3 separate regions of the Homo sapiens genome follow, and all the other regions are linked to region 1. The links are contacts of gene promoters, found by promoter capture Hi-C in blood cells and fetal thymus (Javierre and others, 2016). All regions are on one chromosome and are shown on one strand. The core of a region is centred on a gene start or on the middle of the fragment in contact, and the rest is flanking DNA. Distances in the headings are between cores, read along the strand shown. Region 1 holds the start of PIGY (phosphatidylinositol glycan anchor biosynthesis class Y). Region 2 overlaps DMP1-AS1 (DMP1 and DSPP antisense RNA 1). Region 3 has its middle 5.8 kb from the start of PKD2.

Evidence for each region. The method cuts DNA at HindIII sites, captures the fragments that hold promoters and counts their contacts. A CHiCAGO score of 5 or more calls a contact.
Region 2: a contact is called between a fragment that was not itself captured here and the fragment with the promoter of PIGY in region 1, in 2 of 17 cell types (naive B cells and neutrophils). The highest score is 7.0, in naive B cells.
Region 3: a contact is called between a fragment that was not itself captured here and the fragment with the promoter of PIGY in region 1, in 2 of 17 cell types (naive B cells and total CD4 T cells). The highest score is 5.8, in naive B cells.

What each region holds. Positions count from the first base shown.
Region 1 is chr4:88,520,653-88,525,820 of GRCh38, reverse strand. It overlaps PIGY (phosphatidylinositol glycan anchor biosynthesis class Y), which reads left to right and starts at 2,045. Exons shown (of 2, transcript NM_001042616.3): 1 at 2,045-2,323; 2 at 3,792-4,823. The coding sequence starts at 4,032. The coding sequence ends at 4,247. PYURF (PIGY upstream open reading frame) reads left to right here and starts at 2,045. Exons shown (of 2, transcript NM_032906.5): 1 at 2,045-2,323; 2 at 3,792-4,823. The coding sequence starts at 2,121. The coding sequence ends at 3,933. PIGY-DT (PIGY divergent transcript) reads right to left here and starts at 2,011. Exons shown (of 2, transcript NR_134663.1): 1 at 1,889-2,011; 2 at 830-1,056. It also overlaps a transcript of HERC3 not described here. RefSeq lists an enhancer at 2,688-2,747. The HindIII fragment of the contact is 19,176 bases long and covers 1-5,168 here.
Region 2 is chr4:87,679,545-87,684,712 of GRCh38, reverse strand. The region is part of intron 2 of DMP1-AS1 (DMP1 and DSPP antisense RNA 1); the gene reads left to right. Among named protein-coding and RNA genes, the nearest start is that of DMP1, 32 kb to the right of the region's middle. RefSeq lists enhancers at 3,089-4,032, 4,902-5,168. The HindIII fragment of the contact is 3,957 bases long and covers 604-4,560 here.
Region 3 is chr4:87,999,229-88,004,396 of GRCh38, reverse strand. It overlaps the pseudogene RNU1-36P. Among named protein-coding and RNA genes, the nearest start is that of PKD2, 5.8 kb to the left of the region's middle. The HindIII fragment of the contact is 161 bases long and covers 2,920-3,080 here.

The DNA.
Region 1 (5,168 bases), core at 796-3,295:
GTATACTACAGGCAGAAATGAATTGTATTTCTTCATTACTAAGGGCTATTTAGGGACATATTGCTTTGATATGTTGCAACTTAATACACACATGGTGATAGTCATACATTCATATGTTCCTTAAATATTGGTTGTTGATTTCTGGTGTTATAAATTTGAGGATGTTTTCAATACTTTGCTGTTACTCTCTATTCTTCCCCTAAATAAAGTAAACTGAACTGCCTCAAACCCTCTATGTGGAGGCAAACTGAAACTAATTTATTTATAACTGGTTAGAAAACCCAGTTGATAGAGATCTGTCAGCCAAGCTAGCTGAGGCTTAAGCATGGGTGCCTTCCCCTACCCAACAAGCGCCAAGGGTTGGGCCCACTCAGCGCTTGCAGAAGTCAAGCGCTGTTTCTCCTTAAGCAGAAACTTATCTTTCCTACAGCTCACCCCTTCCCTTGAGCCCAAAGTATCAACTGACTTCAACTGAAAAATTAATTCCTGCTACTGCCCTAGTCGGAAATAGTGTGAAGGTGACATAGGAACTTTACAGTAGTTTCCCTTGAGGGTATGTCCCGATAACTGCCCTATTCTCTAGTCCGTTAGTAACTCTAATAACGGAAAGTTATGACTGTGAAAGATTGCTTTGTGAGGGAAGGAAGGTGAGGCAACCAGAGACTTTCATTATCTCTTAAATATCTATCCAGTAGAAGTGTTTCCTTTTTGGTATCCTATAAACTACATTAACCTTAGAAAATCTTCTGAGCATTAGTGAACAAAGAACATCAAAAAATAAACTGTTTTTTTTAAAAAAAACAGGATGGCCCAAAAAACAAACAAAAAATTAGGATGAACATATAAACATTTGTCAGTTTATTTTTACATTGGAGTGGAAGAGAAATTTGAAAATATAAACATATTTTTGGATTCTGTACTTCCAGCTCCAGGAACTCAAAGTGTGAAATGATAATGCCCAGTGATGCAAAAAAAAAGTTCAGGTTGATATTCAGCAGAACGGAGGGAAAAAATGGATGACTAATGAGAATCTTTGAGTCTTCGGACATGGAAAAACTAGATGAACTAAAAATAAAAATAGACAACATTAATGGAGCATTAATTTGTGCCAGGCACTTTTCTAAATGTTCTTCGAATGCACAATCACATTTATGCCCTACCTACAAGGTAGGTACAATTATTAGTCTTATACAGATAAGGAAAATGAGCAGTTAAGTCATTTGCCAAAGTCATCCAGCTACTAATTGTGGACAGGGAACCAAGCTGTCAGGCCCCAGAGCCCAAGTTCCCATCTACTACACTGTAAGAAAGAGATCTAACATGGTCACTTTCTTGGAGAGTGGGAAGCAAACCTGGGATACAAATTCACTGAATGGATCACCCACTCATTGAATGGATCTTTAACAGGCAGATCACATCTGCCTGTTACACAGCTATTTAGGCCCCTTGCGGCCTCCAAGCTCATTTATAGAAGTAAATTAGCTGTGCTTTATTACGCAAATACTTCACAATGACTGGGTCTCAGGCAGGAAGAATTTATATATTTTGGAGGGTCAGAGGCCTAGGCCCTTCCTTCCAGGTTCTCACTTTTTTTAATGAGAGAGAAAAAAGCCAAACAAGGTTACAGAAACTAATGGTATAGTAAAGATGTACATGAAACAAATGAGCGCTTTCAATACATCCATGACAATACATTCGGTACAATACATAACAGTGTGTTTGAAACTTCACTTGGAGGTAACCACGTAGGTCCAAGCCTAACTCCCTACAACTCTGAGGCCTGGCCACTGGCTTCCTAGCATCCTTGGACAGGCCCCGGTGAAAACCCAGACACCTTGACTTAAACACTGGTTTAGTTTGTAGTCTGGTAAGGCGGCGGGGCACTCACCAGAGGCCTCTGCCCTGGGGCTGTCCTCCGGACTATAGATGACGCCCGTGGGAAAAGCAGTCGGAGCAGAAGCACCCTCGGAACCAAAGCGCCCGCCCCGCCTACTCCTCGGCAGCGTTTCCTGGAGGACCAGGGGGCGGGGCCTGCCCGGCTGGCCTGGACGAACGGGAAGCCGGGAGCTCGGCCACGGGTGGCGAGGCTGCGGTGAGGCCTGGTCTCCGGCTGCCAGACCATGCTGAGTGGAGCACGCTGCAGGCTCGCCTCAGCGCTGCGGGGAACGCGCGCGCCGCCGTCCGCGGTCGCCCGTAGGTGCCTGCACGCGTCGGGGTCGCGGCCTTTGGCCGACCGGGGCAAGAAGACTGAGGAGCCGCCCCGCGACTTCGATCCGGCGCTGCTGGAGTTCCTGGTGTGCCCGCTCTCCAAGAAGCCGCTCAGGTAACTCGCTGGCCTTGGCCCTTCCTTTGCAGCCTCCCGGTGGGCGGAAAGGGAGCGGTGGACCGCGGCCTCTTGCAGCCACTGGGGCCTTGTAGGTCGGTCAGGTACTCTCCGCTGCCACATTCTGGACTCTGTCCTCGCCGGGCGCACAGCGGGCAGGACGGGGGAGACCGGAGGCCAGGGGAGCTGCGTCCCACATCTCCCAGAACGCAACGCCAGCCTGCGGGAATGGCTCGAAGCGTTTTAGGGTTCGCGACCGGCTGCGCATTGCAATCACCCGGGGACCGTTTTAAAAATGCCGATTCCCCGACAGCCCCCAAGACGGGCAGACTTGGAATGCTCGCGGGATGGGACCTGAACATTTGTATTTTCTTTTCCTTTTTTTTTTTCCTTTTAAGAGACAGGGTGCCCCCTACGTTGCCCAGACTGGCCTAGAACTCCCGCCTCAGCCTCCTCAGGAGTCGAGAGACAGGCGCCGCCCCCACGCCCAGCTTATCTGTGTTCTTAAACGGTCCCTAAATGATTTCTAATGTACCACCAGGTTTATGAACCACTGCGATTCAGGACAAGTCCGAAGCCTTCCGGTTTTTAAGCCAAGATAATGAAAAGTATTGTTGTACCCTCCAGATTCTTGTGAAAGTGTCTTGTACAACTGGTGCCTGACAATCTTAAGCAATTCAGCTGTGTTTGCTGCCCAGTGGCTCTTAGTTGTGGCCTAGCAGGTTTCGTAGAAGCCTCTTTAACTAGTTTTTGGGAAGACAGCTCTACAGTTTCCAAGCTACCAAAATTGAATATTGACAACACTAACGCTAGTATTACAAATCGCATAAACACCAAAATGTTATCAGTGGTTATCTTTGAATGGTAGATTGCTAGCAATTTTTCGTATTTCTTTTTCCCGTAATAAACATATTATTCAATTTTCTCGAACCTTGAAATTATCATTTGATTTACGTTTATAACTAGCTCACTGCAGACTTAGTGCTTTCGAAAGTTTCTTCATTTCTGCCCTCTCACCTTTTCCAGTGATTTCCTTCTAATGGATTAGTTAAGTTTCTCTACTTAGCATTTATTCTAAAATGAAGAAGTTGATTTTTCTCTAGTGTTTATTCCAGTAGTAAATTAACAGGGATGGTTTGGGGGTTGACCAAAGTAATGAAGGAATATTTGGATAAGAGAGGGGGATCTTTTCTGACTAGTATGAAAAAAAATTAAGGAATAACTTGTGAATAAGGTGAAAAAGAGAATATGAGAGAAACTACTAAAATGGGAATAATTATAGATTGTAAGAGAATTTTTCTAAGATAAAAGGTTGAATTGGCTATTGTTGCTTTTAGAATTAAAGAAGACTATTCTGGGATTAACTCCGTACCAAAAATTGGATAAATGGTGGTATTTGTTGAAAATCAGGCTCTTCAAGCATTTTATTTTCCCACAACTCATTTTGTTCTTTTTTTTTCCACCTCAGATATGAAGCATCAACAAACGAATTGATTAATGAAGAGTTGGGAATAGCTTATCCAATCATTGATGGGATCCCTAATATGATACCACAGGCAGCTAGGATGACACGTCAAAGTAAGAAGCAAGAAGAAGTGGAGCAGCGCTAGTTCATAATTTAAAAAAATTAAAAAAACGCAACAGCCAACTTTTCTTAATACCATATACCTTTTAAAACACAGTGGCAGGTAATAAGTGGAAGAGAAGAATGTTTCTGTCTCTTCCTACGTTGACTGTTCTTATTCCACTGGTTTCTTTAGCAGGACTGTTCTACTCAGCCTCTGTGGAAGAAAACTTCCCACAGGGCTGCACTAGCACAGCCAGCCTTTGCTTTTACAGCCTGCTCTTGCCTATTACCATACCAGTGTATGTATTCTTCCACCTTTGGACTTGGATGGGTATTAAACTCTTCAGGCATAATTGATGCAACTAGAGTCAATATGCTGTATATATTAATGATAGCTCTTGGGCATCGATCTCTGAAAGCTCAAATGGATGGAATTTAGTTTGCGGGAAAGAGGCTTTGCTTTGCGCATATCAGGCTTAGGACTGTGGGAGGCTTAAGTTGCAGATGCTTCTTTTATTGTACTCTTGTTCTGCCCTTGTTTTTTGAAGGCTCTGACTTATAACTGCTGTATCAGAAGAAACATTTTGACAGTGTCTTGGTTGGAGATGAACATCCCTAATTGACATGTGATGACTATTTCTTATTCCATTCATCTAAGAGTCATTGAAATTTTGTTTTGCTTGTTTGTTTAGCTTCAAGGTCTTTGGTAAAGTCACATGTTAAGGATGACTGAAATAATTCCAAAGGAGTGATGTTGGAATAGTCCCTCTAAGGGAGAGAAATGCATTTGAACGAATGTGATATAAAACCACATAATCAAATAGAAACTTCATGTACTTACAAAAACTGAGTTTGTAAAATTACCTTCATTTCTTTGACATTAAATGCTTATATTAGCAATAAACATGTTGACACTTTCCTATAAAAAATAAACCAGTTTGCAGTAGTCGTTTGTTTGTTTGGTCACAGAAGTGTTAATGATACTAAGGGAAGTTGTAAAACTGCACTAAATGTAGTTGTGTTTAGAGAGGTACTTAATACCCAAAACAGAATCATTTCCTGGGAAAGTGAGGGGTGGGAAGACTTGCAAGTAGTGGATTGTACCCTGTTGAGCTTAGAGCCATATTTGAGCCACATTTCAGTTTATTTTCCCAGGATGCCGAATAACACCACTAAGGGCATGAGCATTGACACGTTAATGGCCCCTGATTTTCTAGAACTTTCAACAAGACTAATCAAGCATAGTACAATACTTCTGAAATATAGTGTGTTTCAGTA
Region 2 (5,168 bases), core at 1,333-3,832, 840 kb after region 1:
TTGACAACAGCATTTCAGTGAAACAGTAGAGGCAACCCACTGAGAAAGATGAGTTTAAAAGAGACATTTGAAATACTGAGGAGTTTTGTTGCAAAGAGGAGCAAATAAATGAAGATCAGTTGGTGGAGGAGTGGGTGCAGGAGAAGGAGCTGCGTTGTTGTTATTGCTACAGATGAGAGATGGCTACAAACCATATTGCAGTGGGTTGAAGAATGAATGGAAGTTGAAAAAAAAGCCAGGCACAGTGTCTTATGCCTGTCATTCTAGCATTTGAGGAGGCCAAAGTGGGCAGATCACTTGAGCCCAGTAGTTCGAGATCAACCTGGGCCATATAGTGAAACCCCACCCCTACAGAAAAAAAACAAAAAACAAAAACAAAACCCGAAAAATTTAGCCTGGCATGGTGACACATGCCTGTAGTCCCAGCTATTTGGGAAACTGAGGTGGGAGGATCACCTGAGCCCAGGATATCGAGGTTACAGTGAGCTATGTTCACACTACTGCACTTCAGCGTGGGCAACAGAGTGAGACCCTTTCTCAAGAAAAAAAAAAAAGGGAAACGAAAAAAGAAAAAGAAAAAACAAATGATTCCTTCAGAAAGCTTGGTTGTAAAGGGATGGAATGAGAGAAGATACTAACCAAAGGATTATTCAGGGCAGAAGAAATGTTTACTTCCTGTCTTTTTAAAGAAAAATAATGATGAATTGTGGCCCTGAGAAGGTAGAAGAATTTGGGCCCCAGTGCACAGGTAGATGGTGCTGCCTGGACAGAATACAGGCAGTCCTTAAATCAGGACACAGTAAGGATAAAGATGGAGGGAGTTGGAGATGTTTGTAGATGTGAGCATTGAGTGATCAGGGAGATTGTGCTCACTGGTTTCTATTTTCTTTGCAAAATGGAAGAAAAAGTCATTTCCTGAGAGTTGGGAGAAGAGCAGAGATGTAAGAAGAAGAGCGGAGATCCTGGGCTCAGGTGATAAGGGAAACTCATGAGAGGGCATATGATTTGGAATGGTTGTTATTTGCTCTCTCCTGCTGGCTGAACACAAACTACTCTTCTCTAAGCACCCAAACATAGACACATAGCCACACACAAACGTAGGTATGCAAATAGGAAAAAATGCAGCTGAACATAATCTCTCAAATACCCCACTAGGATTGTAACATTCTTTCTTTTATTTACTATATAGCATGTGCTAGGTGTGGGGCAAAATTCAAAGATAGCCTCCCGTGATCCTCACTTCCTGATAGTCATGGCTTTGTGTAATCCCCTCCTCTTAAGTGTAAGCTGGATCTAAAAACTTGCTATCAACGAACAGAATACAGCAAAAAGATGAGATGTCACTTCTGAGATTAGATTATGGAAGACTATGACTTGTCTTGCTCACTCTCTTGCTTTCTCCCTCCAGTGGAAATTGACTTCCTTGTTCTGAGCTGCCCCATGGAGAGGCCATGTGGCAAAGAATTGAGGGTGGCCTCCAGCCAACAGCCAGCAAGGAACTGTGGCCTTCGGTGGGAGGAACAGAATCCAACTAACAACCATATGAGTGAGCTTGGAAGCAGATGCTTCCCCGGTTGAGACCTGAGATGACTGTAGACCCAGTTGACACCTTGATTGCAGCCTATGAAAGGCCCTAAAGCAGGGGACCCAGCTAAGCCAAGGCCAGGTTCCTGACCCATAGGAACTGTGAGATAATAAAATTTTTTTTTTGTAAACCACTAAGTTTTGGGATAATTTGTTACACAGCAACAGATGACTAATACACTCACAGATTTTACACTTCTGTTTCTCAAGTACACAGTCCCCTTCAAATAACTAAAACTTTCCCTGTCCCTGAGTATTTACCATGACAATAACAAAATAAATACATTGTATAGAATGGGCAAGAATTGAGTAGGAGGTGGAAGAGAAGTTTAAAGGAAAAGTGGGGAAATTGATCAGGATATAAGTCAGTAATTTCACCTGTATGGGAGCAGACTAGGATACAAGACAACCCAGAGGAATGAAAAAGTGAAGGAGAAAAAGAAAAGGATTTTGAACAAAAGGAGTGGAGGCATGAAGGAGACAAGCCCTCCCCAAACTTGCTTTAAATGAGCACTAAATAAACTCAGTGTTTAAGGAATAGGTAAATGAGTAGCCTTTGCCACAGATCAGCCAAGATTCCTCAGTGTAGATACTGATTTTAGACTGTGAAATAGCAAATTGTGATATAGAAGCAAGTCAGCTGCCCAAGATAGCTCAGTGCCTATCTAGTGGGATAGGGCATTGGATTAAGTTCTTTAGGTTCCATGGCACAGGACAGCATTACCTCATGTCTAGGCCTCAATAATTACCAGGCACAATATCAGGTCTGTGCAGCCCCAGCTTTATCTCCCAGAAACCAACCTGCTTCTCCCATCTGCATGGTTAGGACACATCCATTTTGAACAACTTGATCACATTCCACTGGTCGCAGATGATCCACCCAAATTAGGCTAGTCAAAATTTGCCTTTGTTCTCCCAAATCACAGATGTTTTAATGCAACAGTGACAATATCATCAATCCTCTGGATTTTAGAAGAGTAAAAAGAGCATGTAGTGTACCTATACATTCCGTCTAGTTATAATCCTTTTCTATTTCTTATTGGTTGTCTAGTCTGAGTAATATGGATAACATTTCTTTAATCAAATAAAAATAATACAGAGGTCCTAGTTAAATGGAGCCCAAATTAGACTTGAATCAAGAACTCCTGGATTTAGTCTCCCACACTGTTTTTGCCTTTTAAGAAAAGGCACATTATTTGGACTGGGATCCTGATTTCATTATGTTTTCAATATTTAAAAGGATCCTACTAATGTCTCCTCTGAGTGTTAAATATGTTTATGATTCAAGTCCCCATTTTTGGTGTTGGGTATAAGGAAAATTACATGTCAGAAATAGAATCCGTACTCTCAGAAAGAAAATTGCTACTCTTGGGTGTCTTTTTAAAGGTTCTGAGATTCATGATGGTGCTTCTGCCGAAATAGAGAAGCCAGTTCAGATCTGACTCTTATGAAAGTAAATTTTCAAAACTTAAAGCAATTCATTGAGTTATTAATTTGAGAATATAAGAACTAAATTTAAATCCTTCTTGACCTATATTACGATCTGCCACAAAAATCCTGGTGGACGTTCTAAGCCAGTTCAAAACCATCTGCATCTTCAAATCACTCGATTGCATTCATGTCATCCCCTCATGGTTCCACCTTTTCCCTTTTCTTGTTTTGATTTATAGTATTTGGAGTTCTTTGATGCTTTCTTTCACCTTTTATCTAATCATTCTCCATGTTGTACAAATTCTTTCCCCCAAATGTCTCCTATGTATGTCCTCTTTTTATTGTTCCTTCAACATCACCGTGGCACAGTACAGCATTACTTCACATCTAGGCCTCAATATGTACGGGGCACATTGTCAAGTCTTTGCAATCCCAGCCTCATCTTCCAGGAACTGACCTGCTTCTCCCATCTGCATGGTTAGGACACAACCATTTTGAACAACTTGATCGTATTCCACTGGTCACAAATGATCAGTCCGAATTAGGCTAATCAAAATCCTTCCCTAAGACTAACAAAATAATCCGTTTCTGTGATGATGGAAAATGTAGAATCTGGGTTGATGGTCATATTCTCCCCGTGTGTACCAAAAAAAGAGGCCGAGTGCAGTGGCTCATGCCTGTAATCCCAGCACTTTGGGAGGCCGAGGCAGGCAGATCACTTGAGGTTGGGAGTTCGAGACCAGCCTGATCAACATGGAGAAACCCCGTCTCTACTAAAAATTCAGAAAAATTAGCCAGATGTGGTGGCACATGCCTGTAATTCCAGCTACTCAAGAGGCTGAGGCAGGAGAATCGTTTGAACCCGGGAGGTGGGGTGGGAGTGAGCCGAGATTGTGCCACTGCACTCCAGCCTGGGCAACAAGAGCGAAACTCCGTCTAAAAAAATAGAAAGAGAGAGAGAAAGTGCCTGTCTTCAAGAGAGAGAAGGAAACAAATACATAGATAAGAGCAAAGACAGAAATTAGAGGCAGAGGTCTGATAGTGGTCACCTTTCCTGTTGATATTATTCCTCGGGCCTGCTGCATTCCAATTCTTTATAATGAACTCCTTTTTAAATTTCAGTAATTTAAATAGCTCTAACTAAAACACTGCGGGAATCTCCTAATTGTTCTCCCTGCTTCCTGTCGTTCCCTATTTGTATCCATCCTCTATGCCACTGCAGGAGAGGCCAAATTTACCCCTACTCACTTAGAGATTTTTGGCTGCGCCTGAGACTGAAATTGGTGTAAGACAGACTACTTGGAGAAAAGTATACACATTTCTTTAATACAAGTTTTGCATGGCGCAAGAGCCCTCATAAAAAATGAAGACCCCAAGATGCAGTTACAGTTGAAGATTTAGATAGTGAATTGGACAAAGAGCAGTAAATTGTGAAAATGTGACAAGGCCAAGGGGTTTGGGCTAGGGGAGTTAAGTAAGCGGATATGTGACTAGGAAGATAAGGGTTAATTTAATAAGGTTTGTTTGCACAGATTCCCCTAAGCTTCAGCTTCCCCCTGCTGATTAGAATGGAACTTTCCCTCTGGAATAAGAAGGACATCTTTCACATGGGACTTCCATCGCCTGCTGTTAAGAAACAGAAGGAAAGTCAGCGTGACCTTCTTGCACCTGCTGTTTTCCAAGTGCCTTCAACTCCAAATAATCAGTATTCCAGAGCAGCATATTGTGACGTCATGTTCTTAACTCTTTCACCACTGACAGACAGATAAATTGGAATCAGTGGGTGAAAGCTCTTAACTTTCAGATTAATGAATTAAACTTTTTGAATAATCAAAGGGAATCTATGCGCAGTTGTAGGGAGGGGGCGACGTAGGGGAAAAGTTAGTTTTACAAAGTGAAGCTAACTCAGTTTAATAAATAGTTTTAGAAGTTTTTAGTGGTTAACAAAAGACTGCATCTCTCTTATGCAAGAACTGCCCATGTTTCATCTTGTCCGAGGTTGACCATCCGCCTGTGCTCTCAATGAGACTTCTAGCCCCTCAGAGACCACACCAGCGAGCAACATCGCCACCTGCTGGGAGTTAGAAAAATTACAGAATTGGATTATCTTTATTCAAATATTCTTGGATTTCAGGGTTTAAAGGTATATTTAA
Region 3 (5,168 bases), core at 1,751-4,250, 520 kb after region 1:
TAGTCTTTGCTCTTATATCTTAATTATGATAACTGTTTTCATCTATGATAATTGCTTTTGTGGATGTCTTTGTTAGTGTTAGAAGTGGTCTTAGCTCTTATATCTTAATTATGATAACTATTTTCATCTATTATAATTGCTTTTGTGGATGTCTTTGTTCCAGCTAGGCTGTGAGTTTCTGGAGGGCTCCATGCCAATCCTAGAGGCTTCTATAACAAATACTTACTAAACACCTACTATATGCCAGGCACAATACTAGGAGAGACGGCAATTCATTAAATAGGGGAAAAGCCTAGCTCTCATAGAGGTGAGCTTATATTTTACAGGGTTTGAGGGGATTTAGAAGAGAGATTGCCCAGGCTGGCATGGGTAGGGAAGGTAGGTAGGGCCAGATCATAGGAAGCCTCAGATGTGTGTTAAGGAGTACAGACTCTCTATAGTTAATGATAACATAAATAGGCCTTTTTTTTTTCTTTCTAGAGTGTCAGTTCCTATTTAAAACAAAATCTGAAATCTTCCTGAAACTATATCCTCACCCTTAAAAGAATTCAAATTGATTGGAAATGTGTCTGCACATACATAATTCAGAGTTATATGTGTGCTTACCCAAAATTTTCTTTACAAATTATTGCAAGAAATGTAATCATTAAAAATTCGCAGCAATTTTTGTGTAATACCACTTAAATAGCATTTGGTCCATTGCACCCTAAATCTTACATTTTGGAGTTTCAATATTAATTTCAATCTTAATTTTCATAAACCCAACACCAGCCATCTAATATATTTCCTGTTCAAATACTTATTCATTCCTTCTGGCTTACTAAGGTTCCCTTTTGTGCTTTTATGTTAATTTGTTTCTCCCCTTTAGAGTGCCCAGCTTTTGCTCAAGCAGGCCCTGAGGCTGTAAATTTCTCTCCCTACCCACGGAATTCCTTCCTTTAATACCCATCTGAAGACCTTACTTCTAATAAGAAATTTTCCATTATTAAATAAGTGACGTGCACAAAGTTTTTTTCATCTCATTTCCACAATCCTGTTGTCACATTACAAATTTCCATCATCTGTAGCATCTGGAAATACCGAGTGGGATAGATAACATGGCCTGGCTGCTGTTTGTTTTTTTTTTCATCAGTGTGCTAGATCTTCCTGGACACGCTGCACAAATCTCACCTCAGTCTTAGTGCCACCGTGGACGCTGGAAGGAGCCATTTTAAAAGGCAACCTTAAACAGTTCAGTCTAATTTAATATTAGTGGCCTCCACACCTCTGACTCTTGTATTATTAGAATTGCCTGTTTGGCTTTTATTTTCCAGTGTGAACTGATGAAACAGACACAAAGTGAAGTACCCGTTGGTTTCGCGGTCTCCACCTCGAGAGGAAATCCAAAAGGAGTTTCTGGCATGTGTGGTGTTGCTTAGCAATTTACCCAAACAAACATGTTTCCTCCTCATTTTTTTCCCCAGTACTTATTTACTCAAGAACATTGTAAAATCAATTTTTACCACTTGACATCTGAAATCATTAGAAGAAAATCTGGTGTTTTGGGCTTTATGAGAAGAACTGCTAACCACAGTAAGACTTTGACTTTACTTTGTTTGTCATTTTGCTGCTTTAATAACATAAAGCTAGGATTTGTGGCCTTCTTCATGATAGATTTGGTTTGGATTGGCCTGCATACATCCCTGTCTCTGTGGGGTTATCTTGGCACCATAATTGGCTGGCACCGTGATCTTGATGACCTAATCTCTCTATCTCAATTTCCTTCTCTGGATAATGAGGTTAAATACCCATCTTATAAATCCCCCACAGAATTTTTGTTGAGGACTAATGAAGGAATATTAATAAGTTTATAAAACATGTATTGAGTGTCCGCTACATGCCAGTCACTGTGTTGCATTCCAGAGTGACAAAGATAAGACATGATTCCTACCTTCAATGAGATCAAATCTTATAGTTAAACTGCCTGGAAACATCCATAGATCATTCTCAACTTCTCTACCCATAAAAACTTAGGAATTTTTCTAGACTCAGACTTCATCTCTCCCTGGAACCTTCCATAGACACAATCTTGGCCCCCAGCATGAATTGACATGCCTCTCTACCCTGTAAACCTTTATTCCAACATTTGCCACCTTATACTGAAAATATCTGTTCACATAGACGTCTTCGTGAGTGGCACATAAGCTCCTGGAGAGCAGGGACCCTGGCTTATTAGCAGCTCAGCAGCCAGTCTGTTTTCTAGTGCAAGTTTTCTTGGGGACACCCCCACCTACCCACCCCTGCTGCCATTCTTAGCCTATATGTGTCTCAGGTGTGGCAGACACCACTGCTAGCTCCCAAGTGGTGATTGTGGAGCTCAGGCTTGCCCAATCAGCATCACGTCTCCTTGGCCCCTGTGAATGGTATTTCACAAGTATGTTATCCTGTTGTGTTAAAAAAAAAAATTAGGCCAGAAATTTTTTTCCAGTTGTTGGAAAAGAAAAGCTTTTCTTCCCACCAGATTTAGAGTTTTAAAGATGTAAGTCCAGACAAGCTGGCAGCCAAAATGTTGATGCTCAGGGGAAAAATGGCGCCAACAATGGAGATACAAAAAATATTTATAATGTGGATACTGGAAGAATACTAAAATTGAACTAATGTTTGGGTGGCCATGCTATTCAAGAACATTATGAAATACATTTTTATTGTGTGCCATCTCCTGGTTTTGTCAGATGCAGATTATGATATTTATTATCTATATTTTTATCCAAGTTCAAAAGAATTTTGAACAAATTGGGGCCAAGAACAGAGTTCTTTGAAATACTGTGTGCAGCTCTTCTCTTCATCAACTCTAGTTTATTCACTAGTACTGTTTGGGTATAGTTGTATTTTAAAAAAACTTTAAATCCAATTTTCACTAGCCCAGATTTTTCCAAAGCTTATCACAATTTTTTTTCAAATACCTTTTGATGCCAACATGAATGAGGCTTCCAGCATTCCCAGATCTACCAGACTTTGCAGAGTACCTGTTTTATGTCCCCTTCGTACAATCTTAGATATGATTAGGATGCTAAAGAAGTTGTTTATGCCTGCAAGAAGCTTGTAACTAGCTTGCTATACATGGATAAAACATTTAACCAATAAGAGCTTTATGACATTCTTCTGGGAAGTTTTTTTTGTTTTGTTTTATTTTAAATAAAGATTCTGGAGTCTAACTTCTAGGGATTCTGATTCATTATGTCTCAGCTAGGTCCTAGGAATCTGTATTTTAAGAGAGTAGATCAAAGAGACAGAGAAAGACTAGGTTCTCAGGACATCATTTGAACCCCTGAGTTAGAACTAATTGAAGCTAGATCCACCCCTGGACTCCATGAGCCAAAAAATATCCTTTTAAAAAATTAAAAAAATTATTTCAACTTTACCCTTGCCCCTTTCCCTCCCTCCCTCCTCTTGTATTCCCCACTGTCTATTGTTGCCATCTTTATCCATGGGCACCCAAAGGTTAGCTCCCACTTATAAGTGAGAACATGTGGTATTTGGCTTTCAGTTACTATGTTAATTTGTTTAGGTTAATGGCCTCCAGCTGCATCCATGTTGCTGCACAGGACATGATTTTATTCTTTTTCATAGCTTCATAGTATTTCATAGTGTATAGTACCATGTTTTAAAAAATCCAATCCATCATTGATGGGCACCTAGATTGACTCTATGTCTTTGCTATTATGAATAGTGCTGCAATGAATATACAGGTACACATGTCTTTGTAATATTATTTACAGCATTCCCATCAGCAATAAATAAGAGTTCTTTTTCCACATCCTCAACAGCAGTAGCATTATCAGTGTTTTGGATTTTGGCCATTCAAATGGGCGGGCAATTGGATCTCGTTGTTTTAATTTGCAATTCCTTATTGACATATATGTGGAGCATCTTTTCATATGCTCAGTTGCCATCTGTATATCTTCTTTGGTAAGGTGTCTGTTCAGGTTGTTGGCTCATTTTTTCCTTTTATTTACTGGGGAAAAGCATGAATGCAGTATGCTGCTACCACAAATTACGCAGTTGAGTTTCCCACATTTGGAGAAATCACAGGGATCAGCAAGTCTTCAGTGGAATAGAGAAGCCTTGCCCTAGGGAAAACTACCCTTGTGGTCATGGTATCTACCCTGCCTGGTAAGTCTTTTGGGCCTATTTTTCAATCGGGTGGCTTATTTTCTTGTTGAACTTTAAGGGTTCTTTGTATATTTTGAATCACAATCCTTTATCAGATAGGTCTTTTGCAAATATTTTCTTTCAGTCTGTGGCTTATCTTCAATTTTTTTTTTTTTTTTGAAATTTTATATTAAGATAACTTTTTATTCAATAGATCAATAACATTCAGTGTTAATAAATATAGGCAATAGGTATTCTCATCTATGTGCTTTTGGTGAGATTATAATAATGTAGTGAAGGCTTTTCGGAAGATAGTTGGGCAGCATATATTACTATTTAAAAAGTGCATTCCATTTGATCCAACAATTCTAGTTCTTAGTTTCTGTGGTAAGACAACAGTCCTATGTATACAAAGGGTATATGCTGGGGGCACGTTATACATAGGGTAGGACTGGAGGACTAAGGCAAAGAAACATATTCTCTGTTGGCTTCTGTACACTTTATATTACTTAAGTAATTATTTTAAGTGCCCAAGAATTTGAAAGTAAGGTGGGTCTAGAAGTCTGTCATAGGTTTCATCAACAAAATTAAGCCTTGTCTACTTTTTTTTTTATTTTTATTTTTAATTTTTTTTTAATTTATCAACTTTTTTCAGTAGCTGATATAGTTTAGCTCTGTGTCTCCACTCAAATCTTATCTCCAGTTGTAATCCCCACATGTCAAGGGAGGGAGGTGATTGAATTATGAAGGCAGTTTCCCCCATGCTGTTCTCGTGATAGTGAGTGAATTCTCATGAGATCTGATGGTTTTATGAATGGCAGTTTTTCCTGCATCCTCACTTCTCTCTCCTGCCACCAGGTGAAGAAGGTCCTTGCTTCCCCTTCTCCTTCCGCCATGATTGTAAGTTTCCTGAGGCCTCCCCAGCCATGTAGAACTGTGAGTCAATTAAACCTTTTTCCTTTATAAATTACCCAGTCTTGGATAGTAGCTTTATAGCAGTGTGAAAATGGACTAATACAGTAGCCTTTGACCTTTCT